Linked DNA regions of Homo sapiens: all the other regions are linked to region 1. Evidence: promoter capture Hi-C in 16 types of primary human blood cells and fetal thymus (Javierre and others, 2016). All regions are on one chromosome and are shown on one strand. The core of a region is centred on a gene start or on the middle of the fragment in contact, and the rest is flanking DNA. Distances in the headings are between cores, read along the strand shown. Region 1 holds the start of HSF2 (heat shock transcription factor 2). Region 2 overlaps GOPC (golgi associated PDZ and coiled-coil motif containing). Region 3 overlaps NUS1 (NUS1 dehydrodolichyl diphosphate synthase subunit). Region 4 overlaps LOC124901388 (a long non-coding RNA gene). Region 5 overlaps MCM9 (minichromosome maintenance 9 homologous recombination repair factor). Region 6 overlaps MCM9 (minichromosome maintenance 9 homologous recombination repair factor). Region 7 overlaps LOC124901389 (a long non-coding RNA gene).

Region 1 (3,672 bases), core at 670-3,169:
ACGGATCAGTACGAAACTCTCCACATTTGACAGTACTCAGAAAATAAGAATGTTATTAAAACACTGTTGCTAATCAGAATTTAATAGGCCTACCACTGACATGATACTCTGATTAAAAGCAACTGCCAATATATATAGCCCCTATTTCTGGCCCATAAAAGACAAAAAGGTATGATAAAGTCAGCTTTCGTGGGGAGAGAATCTCAGTCCAATCTCTAACACGAATACGTGTCTGAGTAACAGTCTGTACTGATCCTTCTTGTCAACTTTTAATCCTTCTAACTGATGAAAAGCATGAGACATGTGTTTATTTTAAGTACATGCTAGTGGCTGGCTTTCTTATTTTCACCTAGCTTTGTACAATTGTACAGAATTCATTAAATGCTTAATAGAAACACTCACGCCCCCCTACTCAACTCCAAGCAGGGAGTGGGGCTAAAAGGATAACTCAGTTGCTCATAAAGAACACACAAAAATTAAATCCTAGAAGGAAGTCGGAAAAAAGAACAAATAATAACACAAGGCAAACTATGGTATTACAGAAGTCAAAACTTCAGGGTCTTAATATGGTGCTCACTCCCTGTTAAGACAAAAGTAAATAAAACTAAGAGTTCCTATAATAGGAGAACAGGAAAGAAAGGAGGACGGGAGATAACATTTACTCAGCACTTAACAGGTGCCAGGCACTATGCAGGTAGTTTTCACTTATTCTTCTCAAGAACTACACATATGAAAATATGCCTCAATAGGTGATCATCTACAATAAGAGTTAACCACTTTCCTTCATAAAAATGATTCCAACAGCCTAGGAGTGTATTCTAATGCACATGCACTGTGGATGTAAATAATCATTCTGCCTAAAATCTTGTATTTGGGACTGATATAGGTCTTGGGTCACCTAGGCAACCCATCCATCTTATGAAAGATTTAACTTAGGCCAGACAAGATAAAGGGCTGGACTAAGGTCATGCTTGTTTAGAAGCAGAGTTGAGATCAAACCAATAATCAACACATCGATATGCCCCTCTGCTGGTAACTGTTCAGCGAAATTTAGTAACTACTAAGTTACCACCTATTAGTACTTTATTAAAACAATCCTAATAATCCCATTATACAAATAGCACAGAATCTCAAAAGAATAATTTGTTAATTTCTATATATTTTTAAAACCAACTGATAAGCAGTAACCTGCGTTTGAACGTATGTCTATTGCCCTGACTGCTCTCCACATAAAGATGCCAGATGCAAAGCAATGTTGGGGGAACTGGGGGTGATCGGTCGCTGAGGTAAAGATCGCCTCCTATAAAGCCCCACGTTGATGATCCTGGCCCTGGGCTCCCTGTCCCCTCCGCGATTTGTAACCCCTGAGCCGGGCGGGAGGACGGAGGATGAGTGTGCAGTAAAGAGGCTCCCGCGCCCTCGGCTCGCCGATTCCCCTCGCGACGCCGGGCCGGTTCCGAACGCGGACCGGACCGTTAAGGGGCTGCCTGGGCCGCTACGCCCCGCGCGGGCCGCCCCTCCCCCACCGCGGCCTGAGGAGAGCGGCGCTGCCGGCCGGGCCCCCGCGGCTCCCCGAGCGAACAATACAGGGGGTCCCCCGCGAGGCTGAACGCCAAGGCCCCGCACCGCGGGCCTCGCAGACAGCGTCGAGCCGCAAGGCCGCGAGAGACCACCCCGCAGGAGAGCGAGTGAGGAGGCGGTTATTCAGGGGGTTCAGAGGCCGCCGTGGCCTGACCGTACCTGGCTCCAGGTGATGAACTCGTTAGTGTGGGTTTCCTCCACAAGCGTCCACAGCTTGCTGAGGAAAGCCGGCACGTTCGAACTCTGCTTCATTGTTAACGCGGCGCAGGGATTCCAAATTCTACACCCGAACGCGGTGGTAGCGGCGGCGGCAGCTACGGCAGCAGCTCCCCGAGAACGCCCACAACGCAGGCGCAGCAGATCTTGGTCCCCGCCCCCCCAACCCCGCCAGGCGCGCGGCAAGGCCGAGAGGCCGGGCGGCCGCACGTGACGGACAAGTCTCCGCGCTCCGCCTGTGCGCGCAGTGGTTCCGCGCCTGTCCCGTCCCTGGCCAATCCCAGGAGCCGACTGCACGACAGAGAAAAGCGATTGGCTGCTGCTGACATGAAGGGGGTGGGAGCAGAAGGGGGTGGGAGCAGAAGGGGGCGCTGCCTCCTCATTTGCCTTTTATACAGAAGCCTTGATGGTAGCAGACTTAGGCTTGGGAGACCGTGTTTGGATGTTTCACGTGGAAACAGCTTATGGTTTCTGGGCTGTGGCTGGGAGGCTACAGAAACCCTTCAGGGCCTTTGAGTCATAAGTTTGGCAGGCAAAGTGTGGTTTGCACCAGTTTAGAGAAAGGATCCATTTGCATAAGGAAAAAACCAGCTCTCAAGCATGATGTGCTAGGCCCCAAATTGAAATTGTCTTAAAAATAATGAAACTTGTTCTTACATTTTCATTGGGAGAAAAAGCCCTCTTTAAAATATGTTTATCAAAAAGAGCAGTTTAAATAACTCACTCTCGATTACTTAAAACTGTAAACCAGGAACTGCAATTGATATATCATGTGCTGTTTTTAATCCAGTCATCAAGTGCCTACTCTGTACCCAGAATAAAAAGAAATAGACTCATTTGTACTATTTTAGTTAATTAAAATAGTTTTTCCTGCGTATACTTTACAGATATAGTCTTTTTTGCCTAAGAGATTGGTATAGTGGAAAAAACAATGGAAAAGGAGTCAGTAGATCTCAGTTTAGATAAAGCCTCTTGGACATTTTTCTGTATATTAAAATACACTGGTTCTGTCATTTAGAACAATTCCTTAGCCACCAGTGCCAGTTTTTTCCATTTCTTGACTGGGAATAAGATCTATCTTTTTACCCACTAAGAGTGTCTTTAATACTATAATGGCTGTGCAAATGCTTTGAAAATATGAAGTCTACAAAATTCGACTTTTTTTTTTTACAAAAGTCAGCATGTGAAGGCAAAAACTTACAAACAAGTCAGAGATAACATACAAAACTTCAACATAGGATTGGTTTACTTCTTGGGTGAATGTAAAATAGTACATTAAATATATATCTATCATTTAATGGAAGATATATGTATATCTCTTCCAATGAGCAAGTATTTAGTGAATGCTGCCTTTGTGCTCAGCACTGGGATGTTGGCTGAAGCAAAATCAGATATATGGAGGCATGCATGTGATAGAGGAAGTAATATTTGATGAGCCCTTATATATGCCAAGGGCTTTACATATATTATTGAATCCTCACAACAACCCAATGAACTAGGTTTTATTATCCCATTTTCCCAGAGAAGATTCTGAGACTCAAAAGTTGATTAATTTCTTCAGTCACAGCAAGTAAATGGGAGAGTATTTACACCCAAGCTTTATTGAGCTCAAAAGTATGTGCCCTTTCCATTGTACAATGATGACACTGTTTCAAAGCTCAAGATGCTTATATTCAAACTCAAGAAACAATATGACCACAGTGATCAGCACTCAATATATACAAAAAGAGCTAAATGTTTTGTATAAAATAAGTACTAGATAAGTTTAAAAAGACAGATTAGTAGGTTAAGGTGGTAAGGAAGGATTTCATGGCAGATAGGGACCTTAAGTTGGGTCTTGAGGTACAAATATATTTGAATAGCTAAAAGGAAGAC
Region 2 (3,672 bases), core at 746-3,245, 4.8 Mb after region 1:
AGACATAAAGGAATTATGTGTAAATAGGAATGAATTAAGCTAAGAGAAATAGGAATGCCATTCAACATTGCCGTAGAGGGAATGGGAAGTGAAAAGCACCTGTGGTGGGCAAGCGCATAGTGCATTTGAAGATTCGAGAGATAGTTGGTATGTGTAACAAGAGAAGAGGGCAAAAGAAGCAAGGCACAAGATAAGTTTGAACAGACAGAGAGGGACTATTTCTACATGACTTTATGGCCATGCAAAAATATTTGGGGCTTTATCATAATCGTGGGAAGTCTTTTAAACCAGTTCGTAGCCTCAGATATGAAGTTAGAATAGTTCACTCTGACTATGGTATGGAGAAAATTGCAGAGAATGACATGAATGAATGCAGAAAATTGTTTAGAAGGTTTCTGTTTATGTGAGATTATGATAGTGTGGAGTAAGATAATAGAGGTAGGAGAAGGTATTCAGAACAAGAGAAACTGGAGAGGTAAAAATAAAAAAAACCTAGAGATGGATTGGAACAGAGGGATGAGGGAGTTCAGGATAAATCCAAGTGACAATCTTGTGCAGCTGGTTGCCTGAATAGATAGATGAATGTGTTATATTATTAGCAATAACAATATTGCCAACTTTATTGATCAGTTACCATGGGCCAACCTCTCTTCTGAGTCTTTTACATAGACTGATTCATCCAATTCTCACAACAGTCCTGGAAACAGGTTTATTAGTATAGTTACTCCAACTTTACAGGGATTAAGTAAGAGGCCTGAGGCTACGGAGCTAGAGAAATCAGTCTCTGCACAAACACATTATGTCTGATGGGGGATGGAGGAGGTGGAGAGAGAAGCAGACAGAAAGAGTGAGTGTGGCTGAATAGATAGCAAGAAGTGAGATTGTAGGGTACAAGGGAGGTTTTGTTTTCATTTTGTTTTTAAATAAAAACAAATAAAACATAAGTCTGTGAGAAGCATCTACTTGAGAGAAAAGCCAAATATAGAAAAAGAGTGGGGTAGTTAATATTAGTAAGATTTTGTAATAACAGCTACTTAGAAGAGGGAGAGAATGGGAGCAGACAGTAGGAGGTTGTGGAAGTTTCTGTCTGATGGCTTTTTTTTTTCTGTAAAATAGGAGCCCACGTCAGTTGCTAAAAGTAGGTGAGAGTAAGAGCATGAGGCTAGTAGAAGAGGTTTGAGATAGTAATGGAAGAGTGGGAGAGCCAATTGGCCAGAGAAACAGGACTGCCAGGCATTGTTGAGGAATGGCTTGGGGTTAGTTATCATAAATTATGGTGCAACCGGTCTGTACTGTTGTGTGATTTTCTCTAGCAATGCATATCTGTTTAGGTACAGGCACAGTAATGAGAGTAATAACTAGGTTTATTCAATGTTATAGCAAAGGAGTTTGTTATACAGACAAGTGTGTTATTGAAGTGAAAGTGGTAATGGGGCTGATGAAAAGGAGATAAATTGAAGACTAAGGAAGGAGAATTGACAGGATTTGATAATTATGTAGATGCAGGAGATAAGAGAAAGGGTTAAGGATAACACTGCATTTCTGTTTGGGAAATGATTGATCAGTATCTGTAGTGGGTTGAATCGTATCCCTCCAAAATTCATATCCACCCCCAAAACCTCAGAATGTGACCTTATTTAGAAAGAGGGTCTTTGCAGGTGTAATTATGTAAAGATGGAGGTAAGATTATAGTGGATTAGAGGGGGCCCTAAATCCAATGAAAGTGTGCTGATAGGAGACAGAAAAGGCCACACACAGACACAGAGAAGAAGGCTATGTGATGATAGAAGCAGAGATTGGAGTGATGTATCTACAAGCCAAGGGATGCCAGTGATTGCCAACAGCACCAAAAGCTGGGAGAGAGGCACAGGATCTCCAGAAAGAGCCAGCCCTGTCATACCTTATTTCAAACTTGGGGCATCCTGAAATGTGAAAGAATAAACTTATGTTGTTGTTTTAAGCCACCACGTTTGTGGTAATTTTTTTTTTTTGACAGAGTCTCACTCTGTTGCCCATGCTGGAGTGCAGTGGCACAATCTCGGCTCACTGCAACCTCTGCCTCCTGGGTTCAAGCAATTCTCCTGCCTCAGCCTCCTGAGCAGCTGGGATTGCAGGCGCCAGCCACCATGCCCGGCTAATTTTTATATTTTTAGTAGAGACAAGGTTTCACCATGTTGGCCAGGTTCGTCTCGAACTCCTGACTTCAAGTGATCCTCCCGCCTTGGCCTCCCAAAGTGCTGGGATTACAGGCGTGAGCCACCGTGCCCAGCCTTGTGCTAATTTTTTGTAACAGCCCTAGGAAGTTTATACATTACTATTTACTGAAGTAAGGAATACAGGAAAAGGAGGAGCAGGTCTGGGAAAGATAATGAGATAAGATTAGGATATTTTGCATAATTAAGGTCCTTATTCTTCTCGGGTGTTCCTAACATAGTCTCCTAATCATTATTCCTTCCAAACCATCCTTTGGTTGCCTGATCATTCTAGAGTGATTCATACTAGTGGTTTGTATTTAAAAAGACAAACCTAATTCTGTCATTCTTCTTTCTGTATCTCTCTAAAATTCAAATTCTTTGGCCCGGTGATCAGTGTGCCTGTCTGTCTCTCCTTATCTCTTATCACCCCTTCTTAGCTGCTTTTGCCTCAATAAAACTGATCTATTTGCAGTTCTGTAAATAGGCCTTGCTCTTTTATGGCACCTGTACTTTCACATAGGCTTTGGTGTATAATGCCTTCTCTATACCCTTTGTCTACAGTATCAAACACACACTCATCTTTCAAGACTCCACTTACGTCATTGTCTCAGAGAGGGCTTTCCTTACTCCACTCCTCTCTGCTCTTTATAGGCAGAGGCTGCCCTAAGCCCTTGAACTTATTTGTACTTTTAGATTTGTTACATTGTACTATAATTAGCGTTTACCACATCTTTCTACCTCTAGAATGTAAGCTGTTTGAAGGTCAGAACCATGTTTTAGGGGAAATAGTTTGAACCATCAAATGCTTTGTGAAGCTGATTTAGAAGGCAGCATTATCTTTTTGTGAACTTATTTTGGTTTCTAGGAGCTTTTTGTTTGTTTTTTGTATTCTTTGCTTCCATGCTCCCAAACCACATTGCTGAGTACTTCCTTTGGTATAGATATCAGATTGGTTTATATAAGGATTACAGAATTGGTATTTGGCCCCTTTTTAAAATTGGACATTTGGGGCCGGGTGTGGTGGTTCACGCCTGTAATCCCAGCACTTTGGGAGACTGAGGTGGGCAGATCACCTGAGGTCAGGAGTTTGAGATCAGCCTGGCTAACATGGGGAAACCCCATCTCTACTAAATATACAAAATTAGCTGGGTGTGGTGGCGCATGCCTGTAATCCCAGCTACTCGGGAGGCTGAGGCAGGAGAATCGCTTGAACCTGGGAGGTGGAGGTTGCATTGAGCTGGGATCATGCCACTGCACTCCAGCCTGGGCAACGGCGTGAGACTCCTTCTCAAAAAACAAAACAAAACAAAACAAAACAAAACAAAATTTGGAACTGATGTGTTAAATACCAATCATTTTGATCTAGTTATTCCCTGTTTCACCTGTCAGGTGTTTTCATATCTCACCTTTCCCTTTCCACTCCCTGTATTAGCAGATCTCCATTCAAAGCTCAGAGAACTTCTTTCTGACTACCTCC
Region 3 (3,672 bases), core at 300-2,799, 4.7 Mb after region 1:
TTAAATACCTAAATACAGACATAGCAAAAGGTATGCAAAGCATTGAGAAACAGGTTGAAAAGATAGGATACACTGGGCAGACTTTTAAAATGTTACTGTGAGAAACCTGTACCCAAAAACCATTTCAAAAGCAACCTAGCTTCGATTTAAATAAACTAAGGAAATAGCACTAGAAAGAGCAGCACACAAAAAAAATTTGTTGTCTTACTGTTGAATTCTCACACAGAAGGCAATGCCTTATTCTGGATCATTCCAATTTACAGCAAATAATCCTAAGGCTTACCCCAAATTATCCTCAATCATGAAAAGGAACATGAAATATAAATAATCTAATGTAAGGCAAGTAGCAGAGTATCCTTTGATCTGTGTTAGGGTTAAACTTCAGTGTGCAGAAGTATCATACAGGTAGCTTGATAAAAACAGAGACGCCCAGGTCCCAGTTCCCTCATTAAGTTTGATTACTAAGTGTGTTGAATCTGCATTTTTTATAAGCATCCCCAATGACTAATTCACAGATGGTCCACAGACAGGTTTTGAAAAATACCAATCAACAGCAAGGTTCCCAGCAAGGCACAATAAAGCCAGGAAATAAGAACAAGTTCCATCACTTAAGATAACAATACATATCCAGATAACTTGGAGCCAAGTGTACCTGCATGTGAGACACAGGCAAACAACACTGCTAAGGCTAGAACAATAAAATCCATTTACCCCAACCCCTGGTTCTTGTACCATCCCAGTTATGGTCATTTCTTAAATTATAATCATATAGACAGAACAGCCAAATCTCGCTAGAATTCTGAACTCAAAAAATTCCTGATCACTGTCCTGAGAGAACAACCTGAATTTTTGAAAGATGAAAGAATTACTTGCAGACTCTATTATAATCAAGAAATATTGCAGGTAGTGAAAAACAAAAAGATCAGTTTGCTGGCAGTCAAATTAAGGTCAATATAATAGATCTTTTAGTCTAAGGATTAAATGTTGTTATCTAGATCCAACCATAATTAGAACGAATTTAAGTACAAATTTGAGAGCAAAGGGGTGTAGGACAGAATAAAATGTAAGGTGGTAAGCTTGTCTTCAAAGTGGCTGCCCGTCCATCTCCCTTCAAATCCTCACCCAACCTTTCTACACAAGCCATTTTCTCATTGAGAGGTGAAGTCCATTTCTCCACTTTCTTGATGCAGAACAGATGTGAGACTTCTCTGACCAAGAGAACATAGCAAAAATAACACTGCATGATTTCCTAGGTTAGGTCCTAAGACATCTTTCAGCTTCAGCCTTTGGCCAAGTCTCTGGAAACATTTGTTCTGGGGGAAGTTAGTTAACTGGTTACCCTGAAGTCAACCTCCAGACCATGTGAAGCCAGATGACCAACCTGCCCCATCTATTTCAGCCATCAAAAACCAGGCACCAGACATAAGGAGAAACCTTTGGGTCCCAGACTCTATCTGAATGAAAGCTATGAGTGACCCAAAGGAAAAACTGCCCAACTGAACTAAGTCAATATATAAATTGTTGTTTTAAAACACTATGCTTTGGGTAGATTTCTACAAAGCAGTAGGTAACCAGAATAGCTGTCCAAGCCTTCATCCTACCTCATTTCCCAACTGTTCATTACATAAATTCACTGCTCCCAACACTCTACTCAATGCTATTACTGAACCTAGTCTAATGAGAATGCTGCCATTAGGGAAATCCCCATTCACACACACAGAGAACACTGTTCACGCCAATCCCAATTCTATCTTTTTGACTAGGTCCAGCTCAGGTGTTGCTCCCTTCCTTACCAGACAAATATGGAGGTAACCCGGGAAATTTTCCATTTTTCGCTCCTTAAAGTATCTGCCATTCACTTAGCATTTCTATATTAGCTTGTGTTAATTTTTAATGGACATCCTTACTTGAGTGGAAACTCTTTAAGAGACACCATTTCTTGTACTTCTTGTATCCCAGTGGCATTTACGAGTATGTCAATAGGATTTTTCATAGTTAAATATCTATCTAGAAATAAGCTTAAATAGACATTTATTTAGAAACACTGAATATGGCCGGGCGCAGTGGCTCACACCTGTAATCCCAGCACTTTGGGAGGCTGAGGCAGGCAGATCACCTGAGGTCAGGAGTTTGAGACCAGCCTGGCCAATATGGCAAAACCCTGTCTCTACTGAAAATACAAAAATTAGCAGGGCGGGGTGGCGCGCATCACCTGTAGTCCCAGCTACTTGGGGAGGCTGAGACAGGAGAACTTGAATCTGGGAGACGGAGGTTGCAGTGAGCCTAGATTACACCACTGCACTCCAGCCTGGGTGACAGAGCGAGACTCCGTCTCAAAAAAAAAAAAAAAAAAAAACCACTGAAAAAGAAACACTAAATAAAGCTTACATGTCTATACTCCCTCTGAGTGATTCTTACATATCCACATGGCCTATATTTTCAAGTCTATATTCAAAGAGCCTCTCCTTGGCCTCCCTATTTAAAACTGTACCCCTTCCTACACCACTGACTTTCAACATTCCTATCTTCCCTTCTCTGCTTTACTTTTCCTCATTGCACTTACATTACCACATATTTACCCACGTATATTATTTGTCAGACTCCCACTGAAATCTAAGTTCCATGAGTACACTGCTGCATTCCCATGTCTGGAAGAGTATCTGGTACTTAACAGACCCCAACTGTCACCTGTAAATGAATGTATGAACGAATCAAAACCAAGAATGGACTAATTGAAGGTCTCTTATTTCAGGAATATTTCTTATTCTTTTAAAAAAAACAAACAAAAAAACTGATTTTACAGTTAAGATACAAAATCCTGTAAGCCCTTTCACTGAAAATGCTCCTTAAGGTGCCTTTCAGTTCTCAGCCAAAACTTGGCTTAGCTTACTTCTTCCTTTTAATTACTAATCATTTTTCTTTTAGCAACTATGACACAGGATACTTCTGAATCACATCAGCAATTTAAACACAGGACTTGCAGAAACAAGGAAATGTGGCAACATTATAGTCTGTACTAGTAGGCACGGTCATCAAGTCAAACAATTTAGCTATACATTTTCCTTCCCTACTGGAAGATAAAGATACTTGCTTTAAAAGAATCACCTGGCTGTACATCAATCCACCACGTTGCTTAATGCCTTTATGTCCACTTTTGCTTCACCTATTTTTTTCCCCAAGCAAAACTGGTTGCATTGGTTTAGGCATGGATTGTGTCATCTCCTAACAGTCTCATGATTTCTATTGGTCTGCTGAGTTCTTTAGCAAGTTCCATAAATGTCAGTCTCTGAATATATCAAACTTTACCCTATAGGGCAAATCATCATTTGGTGATGACAGGCTACTGCGTCATCATGTTCCTTGCGGGCTGCAGGAAAGATGATAGGGCAATCAGAGATCAGCCTGTAAGCGTTACTGTCTGGCCTATGCCTTCCCTTTCTGACAAAACCCTGCACTTAAATTTACCAATCTGACAAAGATGTATGCCTCTCTAGAGCACACAGGTAATTTATTGAACAGAGAATAAAACTTTTGTTTTCTTCCCTTCATACCAATACTCTTAAATCATTCTTCTCACATCTTTAAAGAAATTCCAATGCTTTCAAGATCTGATTGAAAATCAAACCTGACATCCCAAACCTGAGTATTCCTCAACTTATCTCCTACCTATTC
Region 4 (3,672 bases), core at 610-3,109, 3.7 Mb after region 1:
ACTTTCCAATTTTGCTCTTTACTGCTTCCATTTCATTTTTTTCTTTTAGAGACAGGGTCTTACTGGGTTGCCTTGGGGTCTCGCTATGTTGTCCAGGCCGATTTTGAATTCTGGTCTCAAGCAGTCCTCCCACTTCAGCCTCCCAAAGCACTGGGTTTACAAGGGTTAGCCACTGTGCCCAGCTTCCATGTCATTTTTTTTTTTTAATTCTAGCAATCTTATTTTTATTTCAAAAGGAATCTTTTCTAATCTTAAATTGTTCCTATTTTAAAATGTAATTTTTAAATGATTGATAGTTTTTTAAGATACCATAAAATTTACACTTTTAAAGTGCACAGTCTAGCGGTTTTTAATGGTTGTACCTTTTTGGAGTTGTGCAACCATCAACATTATCTAATTTCAGAACATTTTCATCATCCACAAAGGAAACCCCATAGTCATTAGCAATCACTCCCTATTGCCCCCTCCCTCAACCCCTGGCAATCACTAATCTACTGTTTCTATGAATTTGCCTATATATATAGACAATATATATAATATAAAGTGTATATATTTTATGTGGAATCATAAAATATGTGGTTTTTGTGTCGGGATTCTTTCACTTAGTATAATGTTTTCAAAGTTCATCCATGTTGTAGCATGTAACAGCACTCCATTTTTATTGCTGAATAATATGCCCTTGTATGTGAGTGCATGTGTGGGTGTGTGTGTAACACTTTGTTTATCCATTTATGAGTTGACAGACATTTGAGTTATTTCTATTTTTGGGCTATTATGAATAATGTTGGTATGAATGTTTGTATATAGGTTATTGTGTAAACATGTTATTTCTCTTGGGTAAATACCTGGGAGTAGAATTGCTAAGTCATATGGTAAGTCTGTGTTTAACTTTCTGAGGAACTGCCAAATTGTTTTTCCAAAGTAGCTGCATCATTTTACATTTCCACCAGCAGTGTATGAGGATTCCAATTTCTCCACATCCTCGTCAATGCCTTTTATGTCTTTTTTAAAAATGATAGCCTTTCTACAGGATGTGACATGGTGTCTCATTATGGTTATGATTTGCATTTCTCTAATAACTAATAATGTTGAGCATCATTTCACTTGCTTTATGGTCATGCGTATATCTTCTTTGGAGCAATGTCTATTCAGATAGCTTTAAAATCAGATTGTCTTTTTGTTGTTGAGTTGTAAAAGTCCTGGATACAAATCCCTTATCAGTTATTTGATTTGCAAATATTTTCTCTCATTCTGTTGGTTTTCTCTCTTTTTTTTTTTTTTGAGATGGAGTCTTACCCTGCCGCCCAGGCTGGAGTACAGTGGCGCAATCTCGGCTCACTACAATGTCCACCTCCTGGGTTCAAGCAATTCTCCTGCTTCAGCCTCCCAAGTAGCTGGGATTACAGGCACCTGTCACCATGCCCAGCTAATTTTTTTATTTTTAGTAGAGACAGTGTTTCACCATGTTGGCCAGGCTGGTCTCGAACTCCTGATCTTGTGATCCACCCGCCTTGGCCTCCCAAAGTGCTGGGATTACAGGCGTGAGCCACCATGCCCAGCCCACTGGTTTTCTCTTCACTTTCTTGAGGTTTTCTTTGAAGCACAAATATTCATAATTTTTATGAAGTACAATTTATTTAAGTACAATCTCTTTGTTTCTATTGTTATCCGTGTTTTTGGTGTCATATCTAAGAAACCACTGCCTTTTCCAAGGTCAAAAATATTTATGCCCCTGTTCTCTAGTAAGAATTTTATAGTTTTAGCTCTTACAATTAGGCCTATGATCAATTTAGTGTTAAATTTTGCATATGGTGTGCATATGGTGTAATGTTCTTTTGAATCTTGTTGGTAACTCAGCATCTTTCTAGATTTTTTAAGATTTAGAGATTTTTCTAAAGATTTTTGTTTTATTTTGTTTTGGTTTTATTATTAACTCTTTCACGAGTGGGGTCATTTAAGTTTATTCCTCTGGTTAATTTCCTTTTTTACATTACAACTAAGTCTTTTAATCTAGAAGATGGTTCATTGGTTTGTTTATTCTGATGATTGTGTTTATGTCCATGGGTGGAGTTCACAGTTAATTTCAGAATTGTTTGGGGGTCCTGTTGAAATATTAGATACAGTCAATGGGAGAAAGGAAATTTCAAGATTTACCAGAGTTACTTTAATAAATCGGCATTCCAAGTGTCTGTGGGAGTAGGGCAGAGGTGGTAGGGCCCACAGACCTCACCATTGTGCCAAAGAATTTCTCACTGGTTTCTGAGATACTACTCAGTACGCTGTCTATATGAAGGGCAAGCTGGGATGCCATGAGATATTGCCTTGTGTAGACTCTATCTTTACTGGACTTTCTACAGTTGCTGGTGGGACTGGTATTTGCCCCTCTCTGACTTCCCTATATGGCACATTTGCCTGTAAACATAGAACACTTTACTGGAAATCTTCTAAATTTCACAGCAAGTGCCAATTCATATTTTCATATCCCTTTGGATATTCAATGGTAGTTAAAACATGTAAACTCAGATGAATATCTTGAATCAGAACCATTCTTTCAGCTTCTGATTTGGCTCTGTTTCTATTGATTATTCTTTGCTTTTATCTAGTGACCCTGACTAGTTCAAGTTTCTATTTTCCTCATCTTTAACTCTTATTTTGTGTTTATGCTGGTGTTTCCTATACTTGTCCTGCCCCCAACCTTGGCAACTAATCTCTTGATGTATTAGAGCACTGCACTAGAACCAGGAGGCCAGATCATGCTTCTGTTGCAGGTTGCTAGTCCTTCCACATTGCCTCCCTCATCTTTCTTCATCATTCTTGCAGTGAACCTCAATTACACCCAAGGAAACCAAGTTGTCTTTGTAATGTAGACACATGGGAGCTCCTCCTCCTCCTCCCTCCTCCTCTTCTTTCTCTTCTTCTTCGTTGTCATTGTCTTCTCTTTTCTTCTTCTTCTTCCTCCTCCTCTTCCTCCTCCTCCTCTTCCTCCTCCTTCTCCTTCCTCCTCCTTCCTCCTCCTTCTTCTTTCTTCTTTCTTCTTCTGAGACAGGATCTCACTTTGTTGCCCAGGTTGGAGTGCAGAGACACGATCTCAGCTCACTGCAACCTCTGCTTCCCAGGCTCAAGTGATTCTCCTGTCTCAGCTTCCTGAGTAGCTGAGATTACAGGTGTGTGCCACCATGCCCAGCTAAGTTTTGCATTTTTTGTAGAAATGAAGTCTCACCATGTTGCCCAGGCTGGTCTCGAACTGCTGGGCTCAGTGATCCACCTGTCTCAGCCTCCCAGAGTGCTGGGATTACAGATGTGAGCCACAATGGCTGGCCATGGGGCATCTTAAAGATTCAAGTATCTTATTTATTAATATCTTTATATCGTCCATAACAGCTAGCACCATCTGAGTACATAGTCAATATTCAACAAATATTAAAAAAAATTAACTTTAATAATTAAAAGAATAATATAATATATCAAGCCTGGCGCAGTGGCTCACGCCTGCAATCCCAGCATTTTGGGAGGCCAAGGTGGGCAGATCACTTGAGGCCAGGAGTTCGAGACTTGCCTGGCCAACGTGGCAAAACCCCATCTCTACTAAAAAATATGAAAATTAGCTAGGCCTGGTGGCATGCACCTGTAATCACAGCTACTCAGGAGGCTGAGGCAGGAGAATCGCTTGAG
Region 5 (3,672 bases), core at 704-3,203, 3.5 Mb after region 1:
TTAATATTTATTATTTCCTTCCTGTGCTTGCCAATAGTTTAGTTTACTCTTCTTTTTTCCAGTGTCTTAACGTAGAAGCTTAGATTACTGATTTGAGATCTTCTTTTTTATTTTATTTTTATTTATTTATTCATTTTTGAGATGGAGTCTCACTCTGTCTCCCAGGCTGGAGTGCTCTGTCTCCCATGCTGGAGTGCAGCGGCGCAATCTCAGCTCACTGTAAGCTCCGCCTCCCGGGTTCACCCCGTTCTCCTGCCTCAGCCTCCTGAGTAGCTGGGACTACAGGCGCCCACCACCACGCCTGGCTAATTTTTTGTATTTTTAGTAGAGATGGGGTTTCACCATGTTAGCCAGGATGGTCTCGATCTCCTGACCTTGTAATCCACCCACCTCGACCTCCTAAAGTGCTGGGATTACAGGTGTGAGCCACTGCGCCCAGCTGGCTATTGTTTTAATCTTAGGGTTCTTTGTTGATCTGCCTAGTTTTATTATCCTTATGAGTTGATGATTTTATCCTTTTAAAATGCCCATTTTAATTGCTAATAATTTTTTAAATTTAAAAATCTTTTGTCTGGTATTAGTATAAATACTCCGGCTTTCTCATTGATATTTACATACGTATGTTTTTCCATCCTTTTACTTTCAACCCATTTCTTTCTTTGAATCTAAAATACCTCTTGTAGATAGCATATAGTTGGTTTTTCTTTTTTGTATCCATGCTGTCAATATATGCCTTTTGATTGGATTATTCAGTCCATTCACATTTAATGTTACTGATACGGTTGCATTCCTATCTGCCATTTTATATTTTGTCTTCTATATGTCTCAAGTTGTTTTGTTTTTTTTTAAATTCCTTTTTTACTGCTTTCCTTTGTATCAAATGAATATTTTCTAGTATAGCATTTTTTATTTCTTTAATGATTTTTCTCTATTTTTGTTATGATTTCCTTAGTGGTTGTTATAGGGCTTACTTAATGTATCAGTGTTTCAGATGTAGACTTATTTTATTTCACTGAGATACAGAAATGTTGTCAATTCTATACCATTTTCCCCTTTTTATGCTGTAATTGTTACACATATTTCATCTGTATATGTTACAAACACAAAAATACATTGGTATAATTATTGTTTTATGTAATTTTATACCTTTTGAAGAAGCTCAGAAAAGAAGGAAGAGCAAGAGTTTGTTATATTAACTTTCTTAATTACTATTTCTGGCTCTCTTCATTTGTTCTTGTAGATTTGAGTTACCATCTGGAGTCATTTCCTTAATCCAATATAGCTTTCTTTCCACCTGCATTCTTTTGCTGTTACTGCCAAATATATTGCATTTCTATATGTTATAGGCCCAACAATACAATTATATACTTTTTTATACAATTGCTTTTAAAATCAGTTTAGAAAAGATATGTGTCTCTAAACTGTTTTTTCTAGTTACATAATTACCTTTGCCAGTGCTCATTCTTTTTTCAATTTGAGTTATCACCCAGAGAGATTTGCTTTTGGCTTAAAGAACCTCCTTTAGTAATTCTTTTAAGGCATGTCTGCTAGCTACTGATGCTCCCAGTTTTTGTTTATCTGGGAATGTCTTTATTTTTCCATAATTTTTGAAAGATAGTTTTGCTGGATATCAGACTCCGGGTTCGATTTTTTTTTTTCTTTCAGCACTTTGAATATGTAATCCCACTGCCTCTGGCCTCCACTGTTTCTGATTAGAAGTCAGCTCTTAATTTTATTGTGGCTCCCTTTTAAATGAAGAGTTGTTCTCTTATTGATTTAAAATTTTCTCTTTATCTTCAGTTTTCAGCATTTCTGCTATGATTTATGGGTGTGGATTTTTTAAAACATATATCCTACTTGGATTTTGTTGAGCTTCTTGAATGTATAGTCCATTGTTTTTCATCAAATTTGGAGAGTTTTCAGTCATTTTTTTCTAACTTTTTTTCTACTCCTTTTAGTTCCCCTCCTTCTGGTACTCCCAATATATATATATTATTCTGATTAAAGGTGTACAACATTTCTTTGACACTCTGCTCATTTTTTATCTTGCCCTTTACCTCTGTTCTTTGGATTGCATAATTTCAACTGATCTCTCTTAAAGTTTGCTGACTTTTTCTTCTGCAATTTCAGGTTTACTCTTGAGCTATCTAGTGAATTTTTTGTTTCAGTTATTGTACATTTCAAATCCAGAATTCTTACTTGGTTTTTAAAAATCCTTTTTATCTCTTATTGATATTCTCTATTTGTTGAGACATTGTCATCATCCCTTTTTTTTTTTTTTTTTTTGCATCTTTGAGCACATGTAAAATGGCTACTTTGAAGGCTTTGCCCACTACATTTGAAATCTGGATCCTCTCACAGGCAGCTTCTGTTGTCTGCTTTTTCTCCCTGTGTGTGGGCCACATTTTCCTGTTTTTTTGCACATCTTATACTTCTTTGTTAAAAACCGGATATTTTAATTTAATGTATTATACCAGTTCTTTATATTAATTCTCCTCCAGGCCTCGTTTTTTATCCTTTTTTTTATTGTTGTTTGCTTGTTTAGTAACTTGGCTAGGTTCATTTCTTGAAGTCTGTGTCTCCTCACAGTGTGAAGTCGCTGATGTTACTCCTCAGAGGCAACAGCCTTTACGTGTGTGTACAGTCACTCTTAGGATGATAATTTTAACCAACCTTTCCTTGACTCTCTCCTTGATCTCTGTTAAGCTATCTGTGCTGTTTGGTATCATACTCGGCTGGTAGGCTCTAGTTGTTGATTGCTCTGTTCTTTTTGGCAATGCCCTGGGGATAAGTTGCTCAGCACTCTGGTTCAATTAAATTTGGTCAGGGATACTTTTTGAATCCAGTACTTGAGGTTTGTTCTGACCCCAGAAGTGCTCTTGTTGGCTGTTTCCCTGGTTCTCTATGGTAAACTAGCTGGCCTATGGTTTAGCATACAGCTGTAATAGAGCTACCAGCCTTTTTATTACTTGCTACCAAAATCTCCATTAGGCTTGAATTTCCCTGCACTGTGTTCCAAATAAAGTCAGTTTCTTGTGGGGGAAGATTCAGATTTTCCTTTCCCTGTTTTTGTGGACTCTCTCTCCCCCTGGTCAAACTCTCTGAGCTACTGCTCCAGCCAGGGGGCGGAAATGGTAGCCTCTGCCCTTATTGGCTTTGTCTTTCCAGGTGGAACCTTTACCTTATGAGTCAGCTGGATTGAAGGCATTTGGGGTGCCGAGGATTCTTTGCCTGTCACACCTAGGGTAGATCCTCTACTCTGTGCGTTGGGATTGGGTGGAGGAAGGAAGATCGTGACCTTTTGGCCACAGTCACCAGGAATTTAGCTTCTGTACCTCACACGTGGAGGGGATAAGAAATGCTTTCTACCCCTCCTGGTACGATATCTTATCCCTTGATTAAGAGCTCATAGGGAGCTCCTCTTCTTGACCACATTCACCTGTAGTGAAGCCTCCATCCAGCTAAGCAAGAAGAGAAGGGGAGAGGCAGGAAGCAGGTCATGATTTAAGTGTCTTAGACTCTCACTATTCTTATGAAGTTTTAGATTTCAATGAATAAATGTTTCTTCATTTACTGTATGCCCTTAGATTTTCCATAGTCTGTATAAATGGTTGGATTTTAAAAAATAATTTTCACCAGTTATACTTGCTTCAGTGAGGAGGATGTCCATGG
Region 6 (3,672 bases), core at 594-3,093, 3.5 Mb after region 1:
TGAAAAATTGTCAAATACAACTTATTATTAATGGTTTCCTACACCTTTTAAAGATGGCTCATTCTTAGAAACAGTCCTGTTTCTTTTGTGCTATATAAGGTGCTTCAGGGATAACAAATTGGATCAATGGAAGGTACAACAAGGGTGAAAAATAGTCCGGCCTTATTATCAGAAAGAACATGAGAACATTCTATTCTATTGTCATGTAATTTTTCTTGCATGGTTCAACTTCATTTACTCTGCACTCTCACAAAATCACCAGTTACCAAACTGTTATAGTTCCCAGTGAAAAATCAGAAAATACTAAGTATCTTTAAGAATGCTGAATCCTAGATTTCAGCTTCTCACTCAGAATTTAAGCTGTTTTCAGTACCAGAAATATTTAAGACTGTTAGTTTAACTTCTAAGAATAGCAGATAAAGCGTATAGGTGTTTTGAGATAACCGTATTCATAGGAAAAACAAACATAAAACTTTCATAATTTTGGGAAGAGTTACACACAAAAATATCATCATTGAATAATTAGTACAACAAAAATGCATTTGTTTGTCCTAAAGGTTGAAATGAACAGAATCATGATGGGAATAATCAATATGGGAAATGCTATAAAGAAAGCCATAAACAAAGGCCTGTCTTACAAGAAGTACTTTCTCTGGGCGTGGTGGCTCACACCTGTAATCCCAGCACTTTGGGAGGTCAAGGTAGGCAGATCACTTGAGGTCAGGAGTTGGAGACTACCCTGGCCAACATGGTGAAACTCCACCTCTACTAAAAATACAAAAATTATCTGGGCGTGTTGGTATACACCTGTAGTCCCAGCTACTTGGGAGGCTGAGACAGGAGAATCGCTTGAACCTAGGAGGCAGAGGTTGCAGTGAGCCGAGATCATGCCACTGCGCTCCAGCCTGAGCAACAGAGCAGGAAACCATCTCAGAAAAAAAAGAGGTACTTTCATTTTTCTAAACCAGAAATGCTCAAGGTGTCTGCCTACATTAATTACTAATGACTCATCTGAAGGTAGGGTTTGAAGTCATCCATGGTAATGGAACAATAATTAGTTTGCCCAGTTGGCATAAGGACCTCATATTTATTTTATCTCAAAGCCATTTTAATAGTATACTATGAAATTGCAATAGCAACTGCTTTAAAAATTGCATAGTAAAAGTAGTTAAAAAGGAATAGTAAGAACATTACCTTAGAAAAGTCTGGTTTTACTGGTGGATTTTCCCTTAATTCTGTCTCAGTATATTCATTATTTACATAATAGCCAACTCTAATAAATTCTTGTCCTCGATAGGTACAAGTAATTAGCACAACAGTTACGCCTACTGCATCTGCATCTGGAATGAGTCCTGGATTAGGTGCATCAGCCTAGAATAAATTAAAAAGAAAAGAAACACACACACACAAAAGGCTGTTAGTGGCAGGCAAGACTGGAGTTTCAGTTACCTAGAACCATCAGTTGAGGATGCAACAAGAAAAACTTGGAAATCATACTGGGAAGGAAAATGCTCATTTCTGACTGACTTATAATAAGCTGGAAAAGACAGTTCATGTTTTGCCACAATATATGTAAGGACCCTTGATACTTGAAAGCATGACTACACTTGTAAAAGGAAGAAATTCTGGCTACACTGCATGGTGGTTCATGAAAGGATTATACACTATTCATTATAAAACCTTTATAGTCAGCAATTGATTTTAACCTTTTCAGTCATAATTTTCAGACCTAAATTAGTAAGTATTAAATGATCTCCTCATAGACTGTTGGCCACAAATGTTTATTATACCAGTTTCCCTCTTCAACCCAGGATACTTATATTCTCATACCCACTCAACCACCCCCACAGGTATTCTAATAGTAAATTAGTATAAAACTGAAAATGAGGTTGGGTGTGGTTGCTTACACTTGTAATCCCAGCACTTTGGGAGGCCAAGGTGGGTGGATCATGAGGTCAAGAGATTGAGACCATCCTGGCCAACATGATGAAACCCCATCTCTATTAAAAACACAAAAATTAGCTGGGCATGGTGGCGGGTGCCTGTAGTCCCAGCTACTTGGGAGGCTGAGGCAGGAGAATCACTTGAACCGAGGAGGTGGAAGTTGCAGTGAGCTGAGATCGCACTACTGCACTCCAGCCTGGCGACAGAGTGAGACTCCGTCTCAAACAAAACAAAACAAAACTGAAAATGAGATGGAAATAGCTACATAGCAGATTTTCAAAAAATATTAATAATCCTCTATTATGAATAGTTACTTTGCTAGACTCTACAATATAGTATGCTCTTTAAACCACACATAATGTGGAAACCAGTGAAGGTAAGGATTGCTTTAGGCAGATGTCAAAGACCTTGTTTTAAATCAAGCTATTGTAAGGTGAACCTTGAGGAATGCAGAAAGTAAACTGAGTTAGACTAGACTAAGAGCATGAGCGAAGGGCAGGGCCCCATCCGTGGTAGGGTGCAGGTAGTAATGAGACGACCGGATGGAAGGAGCCAGACTGGGGAACACAGGCAGTGATGGCTGAGGCATCTGAGGCAGCCATTCTGGGTGGTAAATGGATCAAGTCCCAGCAAATTAGCTTACCTGTTGCCAGGGCACCAAGGAATATTCCTGGGCCTAGATGAGCACTTTAGCCAATGCCTTAGCTTGTGAAAATTGAAGACTGTTGTTTACTGTATGCCTAACACAGGTAGATGATACAAAAAGGCATAAAATCGCTACCTAGTGTCCTAGGCTAAAAACCTCAGTCAGCTTCACTCCCTTATCTCCTACATCTAGTCAGTCTCAACATTTTTTTCATTTCTGGAGGCTGAATTCATGTCATCTCCTATCTGGAATATTGCTTAGAATTTTCTAACTGATCTCCCCAGCTCTAGCCTATCATTTGCACTGCTACCAGCATTAACACAGATATGTTCTTTCTCTTTGGTTTTAAAACCTCAGATTATTAAAACCCTCAGAAGAGTATTCCCTTTTCTAAGGGATAAAATCTCAGTTCTTTAACTTCATTGACAAGGCCCTTCTCAGTTTGTCTCCAGCCAATATCTCCATTCATACCTCCTTTAACTCCACCATTGTTCTAGAGATATGAATCACACAGGTTCTTTAAAACGTGGTGATAATCTTTTCACGCTCTGAGCACGGTGGCTCACGCCTGTAATCCTAGCACTTTGGGAGGCTAAGGTGGGTGGATCACTTGAGCCCAGGAATTTGAGATTATCCTGGGCCACATGGCGAAACCCCATCTCTACAAAAACAAATTTAAAAAAGAAATACTTCACCCCCTGTGCTTCTAACATACTGTTCCCTTGGCCTGAAAGGTCCTTCGCTCACATCCTGAAAAATTCATCTTTTAATCTTTTTTGGAGCTTACATCGAGTGTATTCTCAGTGACGCCCTTTCTAACTCAGAAGGTAGAATCAATAGATTCCTTTTTTATGTGCTGATATTTCTTGTCACAAATTATCTAAGAACGTATGCCCTGTGATCTAAACATGTTTATTTTTCAGTCTTCTCTTCTAGATGCTATGCTTTATCCAGGGCAGGAGTCCCATCCAGTTCATCTTTATAATCTCGTGTGGCTCAGCTCTGAGCACTTAGTATTTTGGAATTCATTTGTAAATCAGTTCCTGCCCTGAAGGGGTTTATGATCTCTTGGCAAGACACCA
Region 7 (3,672 bases), core at 361-2,860, 3.5 Mb after region 1:
CCATAATCTCTATGCTATCCCTCTCCCAAGTGCACAGATTCTCTCTCCACACCATGTGGACACTGCCCAGGTATGGGGGAGGGATGCATCTGCAATTCAAGACTGTCTTTCTTACCCTCTTCATTGATCTTTTAGTGATATGAAGTTAAAACCAGGTACTGTGAGTGCTCATCTGATTTTTGGTTCTTATAACTGTGTTCTTTGTGTAGACAGTTGTTAAGTTTGGTGTTCCTAAGGGGTGGAGGGGGAATGATTGGTAGAGCCTTGTTTTTAGCCATTTGCTCCACCCTTTAAATACTCTTCTTAGGAAGCCAAATCTATGCAGAATGAATCTGTAAATTCAGTAATGATCCTCTTAACACTGACTGAGTTTAAAGAGGACAGTTCTTTTCTGAGGAGGGGAGTGGAATCTATTAGAGAGCATGGCTTGAGTTTTTGTCAACCTCATGGACTATTCTCACAATAAAAACTGTAAAAATAAATTAAAGGGAGAAGTTACAAAATTAAAATCATGTAAAAAGGATGAGTTCATGTCCTTTGCAGGGACATGGATGAAGCTGGAAACCATCATTCTCAGCAAACTAACACAAGAACAGAAAACCAAACACCGCATGTTCTCACTCATACGTGGGATTTGAACAACGAGAACACATGGTCATAGGGAGGAGAACATCACACACTGGGGCCTGTCAGGGGATGTGGAGCTAGGGGAGGGATAGCATTAGAAGAAGTACCTAATGTAGATGACGGGTTGATGGGTGCAGCAAACTACCATGGCACATGTATACCTATGTAACAAACCTGCATGTTCTGCACATGTATCCCAGAACTTAAAGTATAATAAAAACATTGATGTATGTTAGCAAATTCAACAATATATAAAAAAGATGAATACATCATTACCAAATGGAGATTATTTCAGAAACGCGCAGTTGATCTAACATTCATGTATCAATTGATGTATTAGTTTCCCAGGGCTGCCATAACAAAGTACCACCAACTGAATGGCTCAGAACAAGCAAAATTTACTGTCTCACAGTTCTGGAGGCCAGAAGTACAAAATCCAAATATCAACAGGGAAATCCTCCTCCTGAAGGTGCTAGGGAGGGATCTGTCCAGGTCTCTCTCTTAGCTTCTGGTAATTTCAGGTGTTCCTTGGCTTGTAGATGGCCATCTTTTCTGTGTCTCTTCATGTGGTATTCTTGCTGTGTGTGTATCTGTGCCCAAATTTTCCTTTTTATAAGCTTTTTCTTTTTTCTTTTGAGACGGAGTCTTGCCCTGTCACCAGGCTACAGTGCAGTGGCGTGACCTTGGCTCACTGCAACCTCCACCTCCTGGGTTCAAGCAATTTTCCTGCCTCAGCCTCCCAAGTAGCTGGGACTACAGGCGCATGCCACCACACCCAGCTAATTTTTTTTTGTATTTTTAGTAGAGACGGTGTTCCACCATGTTGGCCGGGATGGTCTCAATCTCTTGACCTCATGATCCGCCCGCCTCGGCCTCCCAAAGTGCTGGGATTACAGGCGTGAGCCACTGTGCCCAGCCATAAAATTTATCCTTTTTATAAGGACACAAGTCATATTGGATTACTGCCCATCCTAATTCCTAATATCTCAATTACCTCTATAAAGACCTTATTTCCAAACAAGTGACATTTAAAGGGACTGGGGATTATAACTTCAATATATCTTTTTTGGAGGGACACAATTCAATCTATATATAAAATATGAAACTAAAAGAAAAAAAAAGCAAAGTGATCATTTCCACACATGTAGAAAAGCCTTAATGAAATCCAACATTCATTCTTGATAAAAGTGCTCAAATCTTCCTACATCTTAATAAAGGGCATCTACAAAAAACCCTGGGCTAACATCCATATTTAAGAGTAAAAGACTGATAACTTTCCCTCTAAGATCAGAAGCAAAGAAAGGATGTCTGGTCTCATCACTTTTATCCAACACCGTACTCAAGCTTCTAGTCAGTGCAAAAAGACAAGAAAAAGAAATAAAAGGCCTCCAGAATAGAAAGGAAGTAAAACTGTCTTTATTCATAGATAACAAATCCTGAATATATAGAAAATCTAGCAAAATCCACAAGAAAAGCTGTTAGAACTCATAAGTGGTTTTTACAAAATTGCAAATACAAGATTAATGTTAAAAATTCAATTATACCAGCCTGGGCAACATAGTGAGACCCTATCTCTACAAAAAAATACCAAAATATTAGCCAGGTGTGGTGGCACAGACCTATAATTCCAATGTATTAGTCTGTTTTCACACTGCTATAAAAAACTACCTGAGACTGGGCAATTTATGACAAAAAGAGGTTTAATTGACTCACAGTTCTGCAGGCTTAATAGAAAGCATGACTAGGAGGCCTCGGGAAACTTATATTCATGGCAGATGGCAAAGGGGAAGCAAGCACGTCTTACCATAGCAGAGCGGGAGAGAGAGGGAGAATGAGTGAGGGGGAACTGCCAGAGAGAGAGAATGAGTGAGGGGGAAGTGCCAGACACTTTCAAAAAACCTGATCTCATGAGAACTCACTATCATGAGAAGAGCAAGGGGGAAGTTCGCCCCATGATTCAATCACCTCCCACCAGACTCCTGGGGATTACAATTTAAGGTGAGATTTGGGTGGGGACACACAGCCAAACCATATCACCCAGCTACTTAGGGGGCTGAGGTAGGAGGATTGCTTGAACCTGGCAGACAGAGGTTGCAGTGGGCCATGATCACACCACTGCACTCCAGCCTGAGCAACAGAGCAAGAACCTGTAACAACAACAACAAAACCCCCAATCATATTTTTACACACTATCTGACATAGTTTGAGTATTTCTCCCTTCCAAATCTCATCTTAAAATCTGATCCCAAGTGTGGGGCCTAGTTGGGGGTGTCTGGGTCACAGGGGCAGATCCTTCAGGAAAACTTAGTGCTGCCATTGCATAATGAGTTCTCATTCTGTTAGTTGCCTCCAGAGCTGATTGTTAAAAAGAGCCTGACCACTACCTCCCCTTTCTCTTGCTTCTCTTCTGGCCATGTGATCTGCACAGGCAGCCTCCCCTTCACTGAGTGGAAGCAGCCTGAAGCCCTCACCAGAAGCAGCCTGCAGAAGTGTGAGCCAAATAAACCTCTTTTATTTGTAAATTATTCAGTCTCAGGCATTCCTTTTTAGCAACACAGACTAAGACACTATCAAAGAACAACTGAAAATTTAAAATGTCATTTACATAATATCAAGAAGTATATTTTTCCCCCATCCTTAGATTTATGGATAAATCTGACATAGGGTGATATGGTTTGGCTGTGTCCCTGCCCAAACCTCATCTTGAACTGTAGTTACCATAATCCCCAGGTGTTGTGGGAGGGACCCGGTGGGAGGTAACTGAATCATGGGGGTGGTTATTCCCATGCTGTTCTCTGATAGTGAGTGAGGTATCACAAGATCTGATGGTTTTCTAAGGGGCTTTTCCCTCCTTGCTCCTCACTTCTCCTTCCTGCAGCCCTGTGAAGAAGGAGGTTTGCTCCCGCTTCTGCCATGATTTTAAGTTTCCTGAAGTCTCCCCAGCCATGCTGAACTGTAAGTCAATTAAACGTCTTTCCTTTATAAATTACTCAGTCCCAGGTATGTCTTTATTAGCACTGTGAAAATGGACTATATAAGACTAGA

Evidence for each region. Contacts are between HindIII fragments. The CHiCAGO score rates a contact against its expected background, and 5 or more counts as called.
Region 2: a contact is called between a fragment that was not itself captured here and the fragment with the promoter of HSF2 in region 1, in 1 of 17 cell types (non-activated CD4 T cells). The highest score is 5.9, in non-activated CD4 T cells.
Region 3: a fragment that was not itself captured here is called in contact with the fragment with the promoter of HSF2 in region 1 in 6 of 17 cell types (non-activated CD4 T cells, total B cells, fetal thymus and 3 more); the score reaches 13.4 in non-activated CD4 T cells.
Region 4: a contact is called between a fragment that was not itself captured here and the fragment with the promoter of HSF2 in region 1, in 1 of 17 cell types (total B cells). The highest score is 5.7, in total B cells.
Region 5: a contact is called between a fragment that was not itself captured here and the fragment with the promoter of HSF2 in region 1, in 1 of 17 cell types (non-activated CD4 T cells). The highest score is 5.4, in non-activated CD4 T cells.
Region 6: a contact is called between a fragment that was not itself captured here and the fragment with the promoter of HSF2 in region 1, in 2 of 17 cell types (naive B cells and activated CD4 T cells). The highest score is 5.5, in naive B cells.
Region 7: a contact is called between a fragment that was not itself captured here and the fragment with the promoter of HSF2 in region 1, in 5 of 17 cell types (naive B cells, naive CD8 T cells, activated CD4 T cells and 2 more). The highest score is 8.1, in naive B cells.

The regions. Positions count from the first base shown.
Region 1 is chr6:122,397,899-122,401,570 of GRCh38, reverse strand. HSF2 (heat shock transcription factor 2) reads right to left here and starts at 1,919. Exons shown (of 13, transcript NM_004506.4): 1 at 1,741-1,919. The coding sequence starts at 1,833. RefSeq lists silencers at 1,474-1,593, 1,864-2,183 and an enhancer at 1,124-1,623. The HindIII fragment of the contact is 3,471 bases long and covers 1-3,396 here.
Region 2 is chr6:117,590,684-117,594,355 of GRCh38, reverse strand. All of the region lies in intron 1 of GOPC (golgi associated PDZ and coiled-coil motif containing), which reads left to right. Among named protein-coding and RNA genes, the nearest start is that of GOPC, 10 kb to the left of the region's middle. The HindIII fragment of the contact is 4,523 bases long and covers 1-3,672 here.
Region 3 is chr6:117,677,362-117,681,033 of GRCh38, reverse strand. All of the region lies in intron 1 of NUS1 (NUS1 dehydrodolichyl diphosphate synthase subunit), which reads right to left. Among named protein-coding and RNA genes, the nearest start is that of NUS1, 3.7 kb to the right of the region's middle. The HindIII fragment of the contact is 942 bases long and covers 1,079-2,020 here.
Region 4 is chr6:118,672,133-118,675,804 of GRCh38, reverse strand. All of the region lies in intron 1 of LOC124901388 (a long non-coding RNA gene), which reads right to left. It also overlaps a transcript of CEP85L not described here. Among named protein-coding and RNA genes, the nearest start is that of CEP85L, 22 kb to the right of the region's middle. The HindIII fragment of the contact is 6,498 bases long and covers 1-3,672 here.
Region 5 is chr6:118,881,684-118,885,355 of GRCh38, reverse strand. The region is part of intron 8 of MCM9 (minichromosome maintenance 9 homologous recombination repair factor); the gene reads left to right. Among named protein-coding and RNA genes, the nearest start is that of ASF1A, 11 kb to the left of the region's middle. The HindIII fragment of the contact is 3,745 bases long and covers 81-3,672 here.
Region 6 is chr6:118,903,351-118,907,022 of GRCh38, reverse strand. The region is part of intron 8 of MCM9 (minichromosome maintenance 9 homologous recombination repair factor); the gene reads left to right. It overlaps ASF1A (anti-silencing function 1A histone chaperone), which reads right to left. Exons shown (of 4, transcript NM_014034.3): 3 at 1,195-1,371. Among named protein-coding and RNA genes, the nearest start is that of ASF1A, 11 kb to the right of the region's middle. The HindIII fragment of the contact is 4,304 bases long and covers 1-3,672 here.
Region 7 is chr6:118,935,942-118,939,613 of GRCh38, reverse strand. The region is part of intron 1 of LOC124901389 (a long non-coding RNA gene); the gene reads right to left. Among named protein-coding and RNA genes, the nearest start is that of MCM9, 2.6 kb to the right of the region's middle. The HindIII fragment of the contact is 727 bases long and covers 1,247-1,973 here.